Linked DNA regions of Homo sapiens: all the other regions are linked to region 1. Evidence: promoter capture Hi-C in human tissues and cell types (Jung and others, 2019). All regions are on one chromosome and are shown on one strand. The core of a region is centred on a gene start or on the middle of the fragment in contact, and the rest is flanking DNA. Distances in the headings are between cores, read along the strand shown. Region 1 holds the start of MPDZ (multiple PDZ domain crumbs cell polarity complex component). Region 2 overlaps NFIB-AS1 (NFIB antisense RNA 1). Region 3 has its middle 24 kb from the start of TRH-GTG1-6. Region 4 overlaps NFIB-AS1 (NFIB antisense RNA 1). Region 5 overlaps NFIB (nuclear factor I B).

Region 1 (2,700 bases), core at 52-2,551:
TGACTACGGAGCGGCCTCTACCTCCCGCCGGCGCCTGGCCACTTCTCCTCCCCCGCAGTCTCCGCTTGATTTCCATGTGACTGCAGGCAAGAATAGCCCAGCCTTTGTGCCTCTGCAAAGAACGCAAACAAAAATGTACACCATCACCACCCAACAAACGCGCAACTCCGCAAGACACAAAGCGTCTCCCAAACATCGCTTCCCTGGTAACATCCGGCATCCTGGGGCTGCCAAATCGCAGACAAAGACGCCCATCAGCGCGGGGGGTGAGGAGACTAAGGGAGAGACAAGACCAACGTGCTCCCACCAACGGGAGCGGCGGTTAAAAGGGCGCCGGTGCCAGGGGTGAGGGACGGGGCACCGGTACCAATTAGCGGCTCGCCTCGGGGTCCCCGCGGCTAAGGCGAGAACGCAGGACCAGGAGCATTGCTGCCCACTCTCTACCGCAACCCGCACATCCCGGGACCACGTAACGGCGGATGGGGCGTCCGGGAGCGGCCCCTGCAGGGGAGAGCAACAGGCTCCCGCGCCCTGGAGGCCTGGTCTGCGCTCCGGGCCCCCAGGCTAACACCCCACCCCCAGCCCCCCGACACCAAGACTGTGCCCCTCTGGGTCAAGGAAAAGGAAAAACTTTTAAACCTCTTAGTCAGCGAGAGCAAAAGAAAGGGGTGGCGGGGGTGCTGAAAGGTCTAGGATTATCCACCGCGGGGCTGGGGGGAGTGGAGACTTGCGAGTAGCAAAGGAAACTTCTAGACCCCATCCTTTTAAAAAAGCCACAGCAGCGGCTTCCGCGAAGCGCCGGGCCGCGCGGGGTGGGGCAAGCGCACCGCCCCACCGCCCCACGGCCCGCCGCCACCCCTACCCCCACCCCCACCCCCACCCCCATCCCCGCCCCCACCCCCACCCCCAAGCGCCGAGCCCAGGGCGCCCGCGCACCTTCCCCGCCGGCGCGCGCGCAGGGCGCGGGGGCGCGCCTCGGCCTCTGGGCCGGGGCTCAAGCGCCGCTTACCCGGCTCGCGGCGCCCGCCCAGGGCCGCGACGCGAGGGGGCGGAGGACTGGGGAGCAGGGGTCGCCGGGGCCTCTGGATGCCTCGCCTCGCCCACGCTCACTGTCTTCTCTTCTGAAGTAACGACCCGGCGAGGAGCTTCGGATCAAAACGCACAGACACTCACGCGTGACTGAGAAACTTAATCCCGCGGTGGCCCGACGCCAGCCTAGCGCTCCGCCGCGCCCCCTCCCCCAGCGCGCGCCGCACTTGCGCCGACCGGGGCTGCCGCGGAGGCGGTGGCGGGGCCCAGGCTGCTGGGGCTGCCGTGACGCCTGCGACCGGCGGGGCGGCGGGCGCGCCTTGGCCAATCAGGGGACGCGGCCGAGCAGGCCTGTGCGGGGTTTTAAACTCGCTCCTGGGCCGCTCGACCTGGGGTGTGGGTAGTGGACTTGTGAGGTGGTCAGATAAAATATAGGCTGCTCTGTTAAATGGGAATTTCAAATAAAAAAAAAAAGGAATAATTTTAGTACAAGTATATCCCATGCAATATTTGGGACGTACTTATGCTAAAAAGTTCTTCGTTGTTTATCGGAAATTCAAATTTAATGGCAGTCTTGTATTTTTATCTGCCGATTTTGTCAACCTGCGGAAACTGATAGCCTGTTTCTAGCTCCTCAGATTTTCCTTATGTGCACTGCCCTGTGGATGCTTTCTGCATGGGTAGCTTACTGAATGGCATAGGATGCTTATGAGAAGCGCTTTAATCAGAAGGGTGGGGGCAGTCCTCTCACTTTCTAAGTAACTTTTCGCACATCAGGGTGCATTCTTAGTCTGATGATCCAATTAAAAAGCAAAAACAGTAAACATGGAAAAGTTATTAGAGTTGCATGGCCCCAGGAAGAACAGATATTCATTTCTATTTTGTGCCACTTAAGATTTTCTTTCTGTTATCCTCAATTTGGAAGTCCCACGAATTTTTTTCTGCATAAGAAACTCTTTTTCAAAATATCCCTCTGATATTAGATTATAGGACCAAAGGATACTCAGAAGTCCAATTTAGAACATTTAAAAGAATTTCTTTTAATATTCTGAATAAAAATACTTTTTTCTCATATTCCTTGGACTTTCAAACACATTCACAGCTGTTGACCTCTCTCTTCCTAGAGTCCTCCCCACCCCACCCCTCTTGTAATTCCATGCAATCACACTCTTGGTTTTGCTTCTTCCGCTTAGTCAAGGGCGGATGTATGGGCTCTGAAGCTTGTACAATTGGGAGCTCTGCTTTAACCAAAAAAAAAAAAAAAATCTTTCTTTAGAAAAATTCAAAAAATAAATGCCCATGTAAACACATTGCTAGGGTTGCTCCCAGGCAAGAGAAGGACCCGGAACGTTAAGCTACATCAATTTCCAGGTAGATCTGCCCCTGTCCCCAGGCCACTCTTCAGTCTTCTTTGCCTCCTCTCCCCCAATCTTTAGATGCTGGAATTCCTTAAAAATCAGTTACGGGCCCTCTTTTCCTTTTAACTCTTACCTCTAAATACATTTTCACTTCTAGCTTATGATCTCGTACCTACAGAATCTTACATTTATACCTTCAGATTTATCCATATATTCAAGTGTTTATTTGGCTTCCCTGTTTGCTTGTCTCAAACCTAGATTGCAAAAAAAAATGCAGCCGTGATACTTCTGCTCAAGCCTGGTCATCTTGTTC
Region 2 (2,719 bases), core at 48-2,547, 1.0 Mb after region 1:
CATTCCATAGAACTTACCAGAAGCTTCACAAATACACTTGCAGTTAAGATTTTTCTGCTTCTTCCTAAAGCCAATTAACTGGTAATGCAGTTTCTGTATGTTGTCTTCAAATTAAGAATTTTAAAAATGTACTAGCAACATCTGTGTATATTTATCTTTGAGAATAATCACTATATAATTATTTCTAAAAGGCTTGCATTATTACAATGCTTTATATCATAATTGAAGTAATTCCTCTACCCCATCTAAACCAGTAATTTTGAGTCATTACCCCAAAGGTGTTTATTTTGTCTTACTTTTCTATTTCTCAAAAATAGAGAAAGTGTGTTTTAATTTCTATGATTTTTATATTATTAAAGGGTACACACTGGTTTATTAGATTTTTATATTTAGTCCATTATTATACCAGAATTTGTGCAAATTTAAAGTATGTAATAAAGATAGTGGCATATTTAGGATGCAATACTAAATAAAACATATACCATCTTTTAAAACAATTGGATATTGAAAAATAATATTTTTAGAATTTAAAAAATACATAATGTATTTTTGAATATGAACATATAAACACATTCTTTTAAAACAATTGGATAACTATTTTTAGAATTTAAAATGCATATTGTATTTTTAATATAAATTTGGAAAGATTCATATTTTTTATTGCCTCAGGCAATAGTTTTAAATATTTCCTAATTATATAAAAATAGGGAGGCTTAAATTAGGACATTTATAAAGTGCCAAATGTTGGCATTTTGTCAGATTTCATTAGATGAGAGCTGTCCCTGCACTACTTTTATTCAGGAGAGGAGAGTGCATGTCTAGTGTATTGTCCTGTAAGAGGAAAACCCAGGCATAAATAACAAGTCATGGTAATAATTTGTATTATTCATTGGTTATAGCACTCTTCAGCTGTAATTCATTATGCCTCTTCTTTAGATATTGATGGTAAAAACAAATGCGATACCATTCCTACAAGACATAGTCGCCCATCATAAAGAATTATATTTGTGGAAAAGACTTCAAGAAATTACAAGATAGGCATCTGCAGTGGAGTTGAAACACCACACTGCCCAGGACAGGCACACTGGGTCATTTTCTAACCATTGAGAGTATGGGTACAAAAATAAATATACACATGCAGTGTTCCTTCTTTCACTAACTACATGCTGCACCTGTGCACACATAGATCTGATGACATCTTCTAACATAATAAATCTCAAGTGGTTTGTGGTGTCATCAAAAACCTGAGATGGTGGTATGGCTCATAGCCTTACCAACCCCCGGCTATGGCCTTGTTAAATTTCACAAGCTAAATAGAGACAGACTCAGACTTATTCCATGCACCAACCAGAGGTTTTCAAGAGCAGGTTAAAGTGGTTTACAGAAAAAAAAAAAAAAAAAAGCCTGCAGTTATGACTCAATGTGTGAAAAATCTGCTCTCTGATTCAACAGTGGTAAATCCAGGATGCCTTCTAGCTTTAAAAAATAATGTTTATTGCAATTGTTATGAATTCTCAGTTTGAAGTATCAACGATTTCTTAGCCTATTTATGTTTTTAAGACTTATAAAAATACTATGAGCAATTAATCTTCCTATCTTGCTTACTCACACTTTTGTGCAACTTTAGAATTTCAACCATCAAAATGCCCTTAAAAAGAAAACAATAAATTGGAATCAATTTCAGCTATAATGATTAAATTGAGCATAAAAAAGCAAGTGTTTTCTGCAAAAAATTTCAGGATATTTTATGCCATATTAAGGTTTCTGAAACAACAGAATTACTAAGGTATTTTTTTTTTAACCATTTTCAAAAAACAGAGGCATCTGGCAATCCAGAAATTAGTGAGGCAACAGGATGCACGAAAGCGCTAGACAGTCTACTGATCCTTCAGTATAGTCCTGGCAAAAGACCATCCTGCCTTTTGCTCAGTGAGGCCACATTCAAAAGAAAGTCAATGTTAATTCCCCTATATTCAAATCCTGTGGCCAAATGTCCCCAGTGTCACAGATTCCTGTTGGCATATCTAGAACATGTTGATATCATTTCAAGTTGCCTTTTACTTAAAGAAGATCAATAACTATATTTTGTGTCTATATTCCGTAAGTAAGAAATCGTAGGTGCAGCCCAGGGAGTAGAGGAGGAATTCATTCCTACTACAAACACACATTGCATGCTTAGCATGGGTCTGGACCTTGGGCTGGGTGCTGCCATACAAGTATAGATAGGTTTTTGAGGATCTCTGCATTCGTGATATGAAGGCCTTCTATTCTGTTGTGCTAATATTTTCCTCCAAATTTGTTTAGAAAAGAGTAGCCTTCCCATGGGGTGTTTTGAAAACCTTCAAATAAACTCTAAATAACAACCTGTGGTTTTCTGCTCACTTTGCAAGCAGCTGATGTGGGCTTGTAGAATGAAAATAGTGTTCATATAGAAACCAAAGAAAAATGTAATTAGGGATGATAAGTCAGCTGCCCTTCTCATCCCACTTCATCCACTAAAACAAAACAAACCAAAACAAAACCCTCCTATAATATATTCAAAAGTCAAACAAACAAAGTTGGGAAAATTTTGATACCACTATGGTTCATGATGTGAGAAATATTTTTGTAAACAGAAGAAGAGAGAAGGGAGCAGTGGTAGATGGAAAAATTCAGGCACATAGAATTTACCTAGCACCCAACCAGTACTGCTTTCTTTTACCAACTTTTTGTTCGAGGA
Region 3 (2,848 bases), core at 47-2,546, 1.1 Mb after region 1:
AGCCATCACACCCAAGTTTCAGAGACCACAATGGAGGCGGGAATACAGAAAAAAAGGGGACAAAGGGAATTTGCCAACTGTCACTTGAAGATTAATTTCTGGATGTGATTACATGATGCATCTGTTTATATCACTTGATCCCAATTTATTCATGGGAGGCTGAGAAATCTTATCTTTATTTTGAATGGTCATGGGTACAACGAAAGTTGGATGTTTTATTAGTGTGGAAAAAGAGTAGAAAAGATTTTGAGAGATAAGAAAAAATTACAATAGAATCAGAGGGGAAAAGTGGTTCTTAGAATAATTTTTATTTTATTTTATTTAGCAAATACACAGTACTTATTAGGTTTCAGGCATTTTTTAAAAGTGCTTCATAAATATCATTTTTTTAATCCTCATAGCAACCCTGTGAAATAGTTGCTATATTATCCCTATTTTGCAGGTGATAAAACTGAGGCACAGAGAAGTTAAATGATGTGCCCAAGTTACATAGCCAGTAAATGGCAAAATCTGGGTTTAAACCCAGCCAGTCTGGTTTAAGTACTGCCAAGAAATTGAGAAGTTACAGAAGTGTATGCCTAGTGATATACTGGTACATGTTTAAAAACTGGTTCTGTGGTGGGGAAGAAGCCCAGATTTTTAGTGTTTGTTGACATGCATGCTGTAAACATTTCCATCATGGATAAATAACCTCGAGAACATGAATAATAATAACATATAGCCAAATAACTAGGAAGTGATGAGTTTTGAGTATTTATTAGCTTGCTTTTCATATAATTTATTTAATTATAAGCTTATATAATTTAATTTTTAATAATGGCTGTTTAACAACTGGCTGGCAAATTTCCTGAAAATTGAACTATCTGTTCTTATGAGCAGGTGCAAGCCAGCCTCAGCACAGAGCTGGTGCTCCCTGTCTAGAGATGAAGGGTGTTAGGAGCAGGGGAGGGTTCACAAACAACCAGCCACACGGCTGGATTGCAGTTCTACAGTAGGATATCCAGGAATGCTAATGCCTGCCCATGCCATCCTTCACCCCTGGCCCAGGCAGCAGCAACAGACGGCTCTTTCTTTGAAGGGAGTACTTCTAGGGTTAGAGAAGACAGGGCAGTGCCCCATGAGGAAAGGGGAGCGGCAACACTCCGAAGGCCAGCCACTAGAATACTGTCTATGACACAGCTCACCTTTCCCCACTTTTGCTGAAAAAGTAGAAAGAAAAGTTAAGTAGCTTCTTCCTCTACTCCAACAACATAGTTGGGAAGGAGGAAGACAAACAGCAATCACACAAAGAAAAGAACTTATATCTCAAGAAACCAGTTAAAATAGAATTGGACTTGAAGTATAATTAATATCTTCAGTCTGATAAGAGAAGGTATTATAAACAATTAAAAGAACAGATGGTTAAGAAAAGAACTAATTAGGGATTTAGGATATGAAAAATTGATGTTAAAACCTGTTGCTAAAGCAAAAGAATGAATGTTCAATATTATGATTTGGAAACACAGATAAGTTTATCACCCAAACTTTAGTACTACTAGCCTTTTCATATACACTTGTATCTTTAACAGGAATGTCTTTTATGTGCTCTAGGGATATAGGGGGTGAGGGGCAGGTTTCTAAAGTCTGTAACCGTGTTAAGTCATTTTAACATTTAAAATTCAGCCATGCATCAAAATACAGTAAGTGACATGAGACAATCCTACCCTTCTCTGAGTTTCTTTCTTGATACCTACTATTTTCCAAAAAAAAAAAAAACTTTTCCAAAAAAAATCATTTTCCAAATGACCAAGCAGATTCTGGATATTGTTATATGTTTGCAATCTTTGCATTTTACTTCATAGCTCCATATTTTCATATTTTGCCCCACTGTAGCCAATATTTCAGTTGTCTGAGTCCTACTGTTGGGCTCTGTTATACCGTGTATCAATTGTCTTACATTTTGAATCATTTATTGGAAAGGGCCTAATATTAATGCAAAGGGCAGAGTAAACTACTATGCATAAGGTAGAAGAGGTTAGGAGATTTGGGAAGAGTTACAGTTCATCAGAGCATGATTACCTTTGCCTCTGGTAACCTCCTAAAAATAAAAGGGAAATGAAAAAGTACTTTAAAATCAGCCTTGCCTTAGATTGTGGTGGAAGAAAGTTGAGAGTGATTCAGAGAAAACAAAGAGGTTGAAGGTTATGAGCAGAGAGAAAGTACACTTGAGTCTTCTGATAGATGCTTTCCTGCTCTCCTGGGAGCATCATACTCCTTTTGCCACTAGTTTTGACACGAAACAACTCCCACTTTCCTAAACATGAGGTCTCTCCTGTGCTCTGGGGTCTACAGTGCTTGGCTCAGTGACCAAAGACCCAGACCACAAATGCACACAGAAAATGATGAATTTAAAATTCAGACTCATTCATTTCCTTCTCATTTCTATTGATACAGGGAATATAAATGTTAAAGATAATCAGTCTCTGAGATTAGTCTATTGTCAGAGTTCTGTTACCTTTGACACCTTGCAAAGGTCAGTATATTTTCCCTTGGAAGAAATATGTCAATTTTTACCAAACCCCACAATTGATGCTTTAAAAAAATCTCAATTAGTGGTAAGTAAAAAGTCAAATTCTTGTAAATGTGTTTCCATTTTGACATAGTTGTAAAAATGAGCAAAAATATTAAGATGTTATTTCATTTAGAAATCTTCTAAGAATCCCCAACCTTCAGACTTCCCACAAAGTCACTTCTTTTCCCACAAAGACAAAAAGAAGTTTCAGTGGACACACATTACTGGATATTAGCAATTTTGGTTGGTCATCTGGTACTTTTACTGACGTTGAATTTGTCTCTACATTGCACCAGT
Region 4 (2,952 bases), core at 80-2,579, 1.1 Mb after region 1:
GCTTAGCTAGAGAGTGACTCCTCGGGAGGAAAAAAAAAAAAAAAAATCAGTCATTTTGACAAGGTCAAAATACCAAGAAAACAGCATTCCCAATTGGGAAGTTGTGGGTCAGGACAATAGTTCATTGGAACATACTCTTTTCTGTTTCTCCCTTCTTAAGCTTTTTGGCCATGGGGCAATTTTTAATATGTCCCCGAGAGCAAAAGCTCTCTGGGCCTGTGAAAACGTATACATGGCTGGATTATGGGTAAGGGTCTCTCTCATTAACCATTTGAAAATAAAGAACCTAGATAAGGGGGTAGAATAATGGAGCCAAATAATCCCACCCAAGAACAAATTATTTCAGGCAGCATTTGGCTTAGAAAGAGTAGACTACTATAGGGTCTGCAGTGTTTCATTACTGGGACTCAAGGAGCAACAAAGTTTCCCTTAGGAACTGAAAACTGGGGCAAGTGGCATGAATTCCCTTTGCTTACACCTTTGGAAAGATCAGGGGAAAAGCCAGTGAAATGAGAAGGAAGGAAGGAAGGAAGGAAGACGGGAGGCAGGGAGGAGGGAAGGGAAGGAAAGAAGGAAGAAAGGAAAGAAGAGAAAAAAGAAATAGGGAGGAAGAAAGAAAAAGAGGGAAGGAAGGCTCGTTTATTGAACCCAGGCTGCATGCCAGACATTACTTTTGGCTTTTTCATATATGCAATGCCACTTAGTTCTAAAGAGAACCCCAACTGTGAGGAAGGTGTAGCGGGCTACACATAGTCACCTAGCTAATAAGTGGCCAATTATATTCAAACCATGTGTGTCTGATTTTAAAACTCCTCCCTTCCTCTCTTGACAAGTTGTCACTACCAACTAAATATGCATCCATATACACATGTGTATATGCATGTGCATATGTGTGTTTTATAACATCGATGCTTCTTCATACTGCCCTTATCACCAAGCAACCAAACAATGAGGGTACATTTCCTATTTCTGTTTTTCATACTCTTCTCAGACTAAATGAGTTTTCTCCCTTCAGAGTTGCCCCTTATGTTGTTTTCATATGTTTTTGTCTGTATATTATTAAAGAAAGGAGGGAAAGAAAAGGGGGTGAGGCCAACGGAAATAATTTGTCCTGTTTCTGTTGCCTAGTGAGCATGGCCGGGGGGGTAGGGGAGTGGGTGGCGAGGGGATGCCACCATTTTGCCAACCCTGTACCACCTGACTGTGGGAATTCTCAGATCTGCTTTAGATAAACAGTTTAGTCCTGTTTTTCCCACAATCTTCTGACAGTTGAAATTTCCCCTGTTACTGTAAGTCAACCATCCTTGGAGAAGTTTCGTTTCAAGTAACCATGCTATACTTCTCTTGAAGGGGAATTGAAGACCTCTACCCCGGTGCCAGAGAACCCCCTACTTTCTCATTTTTCTCTAAGAGGAGGTGGAAATGGGCTGGGGCGGGGGAGAGTGCTTATGACTGAGGCTGCAGCTGCCCTCCCTATTGGATACTCAGCCTCACCCTTGCAGCCCAGTAGAGAGACGTGGCCAGGTTTTCCCTGTAGCAGACACAGATGCTTCAGAAGGAGTTGCTATTACAAAGGGTTTATTAAAAAAAAGTGTGAAAGGGATGTGGCTGTTGGCAGGGATGCTGGTTCCATGCTACAGCCTCTGCTGGCTGCAGTCTGGATTCTTGCCTTTCCTCCCTTCCCACTTTACAAAGGTTTAGGTTCACTTTATAAAGAAAAGCAATCCCCAGGCAAAAGTGTGTACAGTATTTTATTAAAGTTTGGTGGAGAAGGGAAAAGGAAGAAAAAGGCTGGATTGGGAGACAGGGAGGAGGGGGCTGGCCACAAGAGAGAGGGAGTGAGAGAAAGAGGGCAGGCATGCATGAGAGTCCCAAGCAGTGCCAAGAAGCAGAGAAAGGGCTGCTTGGGGACAAGGGGGGGTCGGGGGGGGAAGTGTGCCAGAAACCTTATAGAAAGAGAGCAAAGAACTGAACATGAAGAATGGTTAAAAACTGAAGTGCAAATGGACTTCAGCATCTTCCTGGCAGAGAGTGCTGCAAACAAAATACAAAATAGGCCACCGTGACAACTGGAAGAAACAGAAGTTTTGAGGAGGCAGTTAGGAGATGCTACAGAAATGGCCTAGCAAATAAGTAAATAAATGCCAGAGTATGCTAATATGCTGAGGACCTTTAAAGAGAGGGAGAGAGAGAGAGAAAGAGAGAGAGAGAGAGAGAGAGAGAGAAACACTAAGGTGCCTGAGACAGAGCGACATCAAGTGAAAGCAAAAACAACAGAGACAGACACACACATACATAGCCAGACCCCAAGAGAGGCACACACAGAGAGAGTCACACAGAGAGAAAGACAGAAAGGGCCGAGAGAGGGGGGTGATGGGGGTGCGAGAGTGGGGTGAGAGAGAAAGTCTCCAGCCAAATGCGGGAGACTTGGCAGGTCGACAGGAGCAGCCGGGCCAGGCAGTAACTGCACTTGCTGTGTCTAGTCTATTGTTGTCTCAGAAGGGGGGGGTAGAGGGAGTTGTTTGTTTGTTTTGTTGTTTGGCCTCTTTGTCTCTTTTGTTCCAAGCAGTTAGTTTGCTTCTTTCCCAGACACTGGGCTGATGGAAGAGCTTTATGGATTTTTTCTTAAAGGGACAGAATAAGCTAGTTCACCAGTATTATCGATTTCTCAGTCCTAACCAGTTCTACCTAAATGACTGGGTTTTTTTAATAGAAGGATCCTATTAATAATTGAGAGTCAGTGTTTATACTGTTTTGTGTGTGATTAACAAGAATAAACGGGTCGATTTCATCCTCCCCACTGAACCTCCTCCTACAGGGTTGCCAAGACTGCAGGGTAAAGAAAGGAAAGACAAAAAGGAGAAAAAAAATCCGTAACTACAAACAAAAGCAAATGAAGGGCATACATACTAAAAGAACTACCAACATACATTGCTACTTTCAAAAAAGAAC
Region 5 (2,700 bases), core at 164-2,663, 1.0 Mb after region 1:
ACTTTAACTTCCTTATGACAGCTTCTTCCTAAATTCCAAATTTAGGGAAAAACAAGTAAGTAAATGAAAAATCCTACCAAATCTATTACGAATCTTCATGTTTGGAAGTGCTTCTTAGGTACCACCTTAGAAAACAGTAACTTTAAAGAACTAAAGCTGTAGCAATAGATGGCCTCTCTCAATGGCTCCTACCCAGCTTTAAGTCTCCAGGCACAGGCACTATAACTGTGCCTATCAGGAAGGCATTCTTCAGGAGACCTGACCGTCACTCCTGTCACTGCAATGCACAGTCCTCTCCAATTACCACGATTCTCGAACAATGCATATTATTTTGGTTCTTACAAATATGGAGATATTTGGAATTATTTTACCACACAAGAGACATTGTGCACTAAATCTGTAAATCCAAATACATAATCTAACTATTTTTCATTACAAAATTTGTAGTGCTGTATATACAGGGTGGGGGGAAGGATGCCTAATGCTGTCAGTAGAATATTTTACCAACCTTTGCTGCCTCCAGAAAGTGGGGCACTATATATTTTTAAATATTTGAAAATCATAATTGATGTAACAAATAAGCGTCCCATCCCTCCCTCCCTCTCTCCTTCTCTCCCCCCACCCTTCCCTTTGAAAAATGAGATCATATTAACTGCAATGCAAGAGCTTAGTTTGCCATATCGGAACACAGATGCCAAGCTTCCCCAGCTGGCAACTGGGGCCTCAGAGTTTAACTCTTAAATTGTCTGTTAAAGCTATCTTGTGGCAGAGACCTCATGGCATAGAGGGTGAACTTCTGGTGGGAGACTGTGTTTTCTTATCAGTGAGAAAATTGCTAAGTATCTTATCTCACAATATATGTTCCCACAAAGGTCTCATTAAGCCTAGGAGCAAGACATGCCAATAAGAGCCCTTCTTTATCTTGTGAATTGTGTATGAGCCAGAATGCAAACAAATGTGCACTAGAGTTCACAAGTTCAGTCAAGGACAAGTTGCTAGATGGGAAAACTTAACAGTGCTCCCCTAAATCAAACATGCATACCAAGTATTTCTCCTACACACAAACTCTTATGTTCCCAGAGCATTTCACAGTGCAGACACACCAAATCATCCTAGAGAGCAGCCTCATTTTAATCAATTATGAAAGCTTATTTTTTCCCATAATGGGAAATACCTGCAGATGAAGTGAAATCTATTAAAATGTTAAAATACACTGCCAACTTGCAAACAATTATCTACTTAAGCTTTTCATAAAGAAATAATTGTTACCCAAAAGGATTCTGAAATTCAGTAACTGTAGGAAGAAAATAATTCTTAGCATTTGCTTCCTCACTAATGATATGTGACAACCAGGAAGGCTTCTATTTCAAAAACAGTAATAATGATTATGACTTCCCCTGTAAATAAGTCACATTTTTCACAACTTCAAAATGTACTTCAATTATTATAACATTTAACAATAAAGCAACAAAAGTGGCCACCCAACAAGAGATCATAATTTTAAGGGTTCAACAAGGCTAAAGGAAACTACTTTTTCAGGATAGCAATGAGGTTTCTGGGCTCTCTTTAACACTCCAAAACATGTTTAATAAGAGTGCAAAGTACAGTCCAAAAATCAGTTAGGGTGACTCATTTTAAACTCTAATCTGTTACATACACGACAACAGTTGCTATCTCTTGAGATCTTTAAATGTCTTGGTGTGTTGTGACCTCTCTCTTCAAAACGCTTTCCTGCCTCAGAGAAAGGCCAATCCCACTCCCGCCCCCCGACTCCCACCACCACCACCACCCCCTTCCTTTTTTCCCCTTCAGACAGGACACAGTCTGGCAACTCAAGGCCTCCCATAGGCCAGACTTCCTTCTGTGCAGCCCTTTGGGTAGAACTGCTAATCCTTCTTATTAATTAACGAGATAACGGTGGTTAACTGAAAAGCAATATTAACGCTAACTATCTAGGAAACTTTAACCAAAATTATTTTAGGCTTTTGGTTGATTTTCCCAGTGTACAAAATTGTGCACTGAGAATTTCGTAACAGTGTGGTGCAGAATCGAGAAATTCCAGAATGACTGATTTTACCTCAGACCTTAACGCATAGGTCTCCTCTTTAAAGTTTTCTCTCTCTCTTTTTAAACATGTATTCTGTTACACATTTCTAACTAGAGAGGAAAACTGAAGTCCTCTCAAAATGTTACTATAAAATTTGCAAGAGTGGCAAGTGAGGGAACTAGAAATTGCATAGCAAATAAGCAGTGATGTGACTGAGAGCAACAGTCAGTCATAATGAATGCATCACATATCATTACGTTAGGTTTGTCCTCCACACACTTGTCATAGCACACCCTGCATCCTATAGGACACTTACATCCCAGGAAGCTGTGCTGTGCAAGGCTTGCCTGGTTTTTGTTTGGTTTTGTTTTTGCTTTGCTTTCATGAATGCAGTAACAAAGGCAATATGGGGAATAGGTAACACCTGCCCAAGAATCATTGGACGTCTTTAATATCTTTGGGAAAATAGATACCATTTAGAGCTATTTTTTCTTTAATCTGTCCCAGTTTTTTTAGACAAAACCTAAAAAAAGGAAGAGTTTTATATTAGCTAAGATTTGCTGCAGCAAACAAGCAAGCAGCTTTCATTCAGGGATTGTCAAAAACTTTCCAGTGTGCCCACTGCAATGCGGATGCCAACCAACGAATCAAAG

What was found. Contacts are between HindIII fragments. The study calls those that stand out against the background at their distance.
Region 2: a fragment that was not itself captured here is called in contact with the fragment with the promoter of MPDZ in region 1 in 2 of the 25 tissues and cell types used here (dorsolateral prefrontal cortex and hippocampus).
Region 3: a fragment that was not itself captured here is called in contact with the fragment with the promoter of MPDZ in region 1 in 1 of the 25 tissues and cell types used here (heart left ventricle).
Region 4: a fragment that was not itself captured here is called in contact with the fragment with the promoter of MPDZ in region 1 in 3 of the 25 tissues and cell types used here (IMR-90 fibroblasts, dorsolateral prefrontal cortex and hippocampus).
Region 5: a fragment that was not itself captured here is called in contact with the fragment with the promoter of MPDZ in region 1 in 3 of the 25 tissues and cell types used here (dorsolateral prefrontal cortex, hippocampus and thymus).

Annotation. Positions count from the first base shown.
Region 1 is chr9:13,278,391-13,281,090 of GRCh38, forward strand. MPDZ (multiple PDZ domain crumbs cell polarity complex component) reads right to left here and starts at 1,302. Exons shown (of 47, transcript NM_001378778.1): 1 at 1,010-1,302. RefSeq lists enhancers at 1-209, 210-925. The HindIII fragment of the contact is 5,465 bases long and covers 1-2,700 here.
Region 2 is chr9:14,325,315-14,328,033 of GRCh38, forward strand. All of the region lies in intron 1 of NFIB-AS1 (NFIB antisense RNA 1), which reads left to right. It also overlaps a transcript of NFIB not described here. Among named protein-coding and RNA genes, the nearest start is that of NFIB-AS1, 9.6 kb to the left of the region's middle. The HindIII fragment of the contact is 3,094 bases long and covers 1-2,719 here.
Region 3 is chr9:14,408,458-14,411,305 of GRCh38, forward strand. It overlaps a transcript of NFIB not described here. Among named protein-coding and RNA genes, the nearest start is that of TRH-GTG1-6, 24 kb to the right of the region's middle. The HindIII fragment of the contact is 5,394 bases long and covers 1-2,848 here.
Region 4 is chr9:14,341,911-14,344,862 of GRCh38, forward strand. All of the region lies in intron 1 of NFIB-AS1 (NFIB antisense RNA 1), which reads left to right. It also overlaps a transcript of NFIB not described here. Among named protein-coding and RNA genes, the nearest start is that of NFIB-AS1, 26 kb to the left of the region's middle. The HindIII fragment of the contact is 4,467 bases long and covers 1-2,952 here.
Region 5 is chr9:14,300,976-14,303,675 of GRCh38, forward strand. The region is part of intron 2 of NFIB (nuclear factor I B); the gene reads right to left. Among named protein-coding and RNA genes, the nearest start is that of NFIB, 12 kb to the right of the region's middle. The HindIII fragment of the contact is 6,370 bases long and covers 1-2,700 here.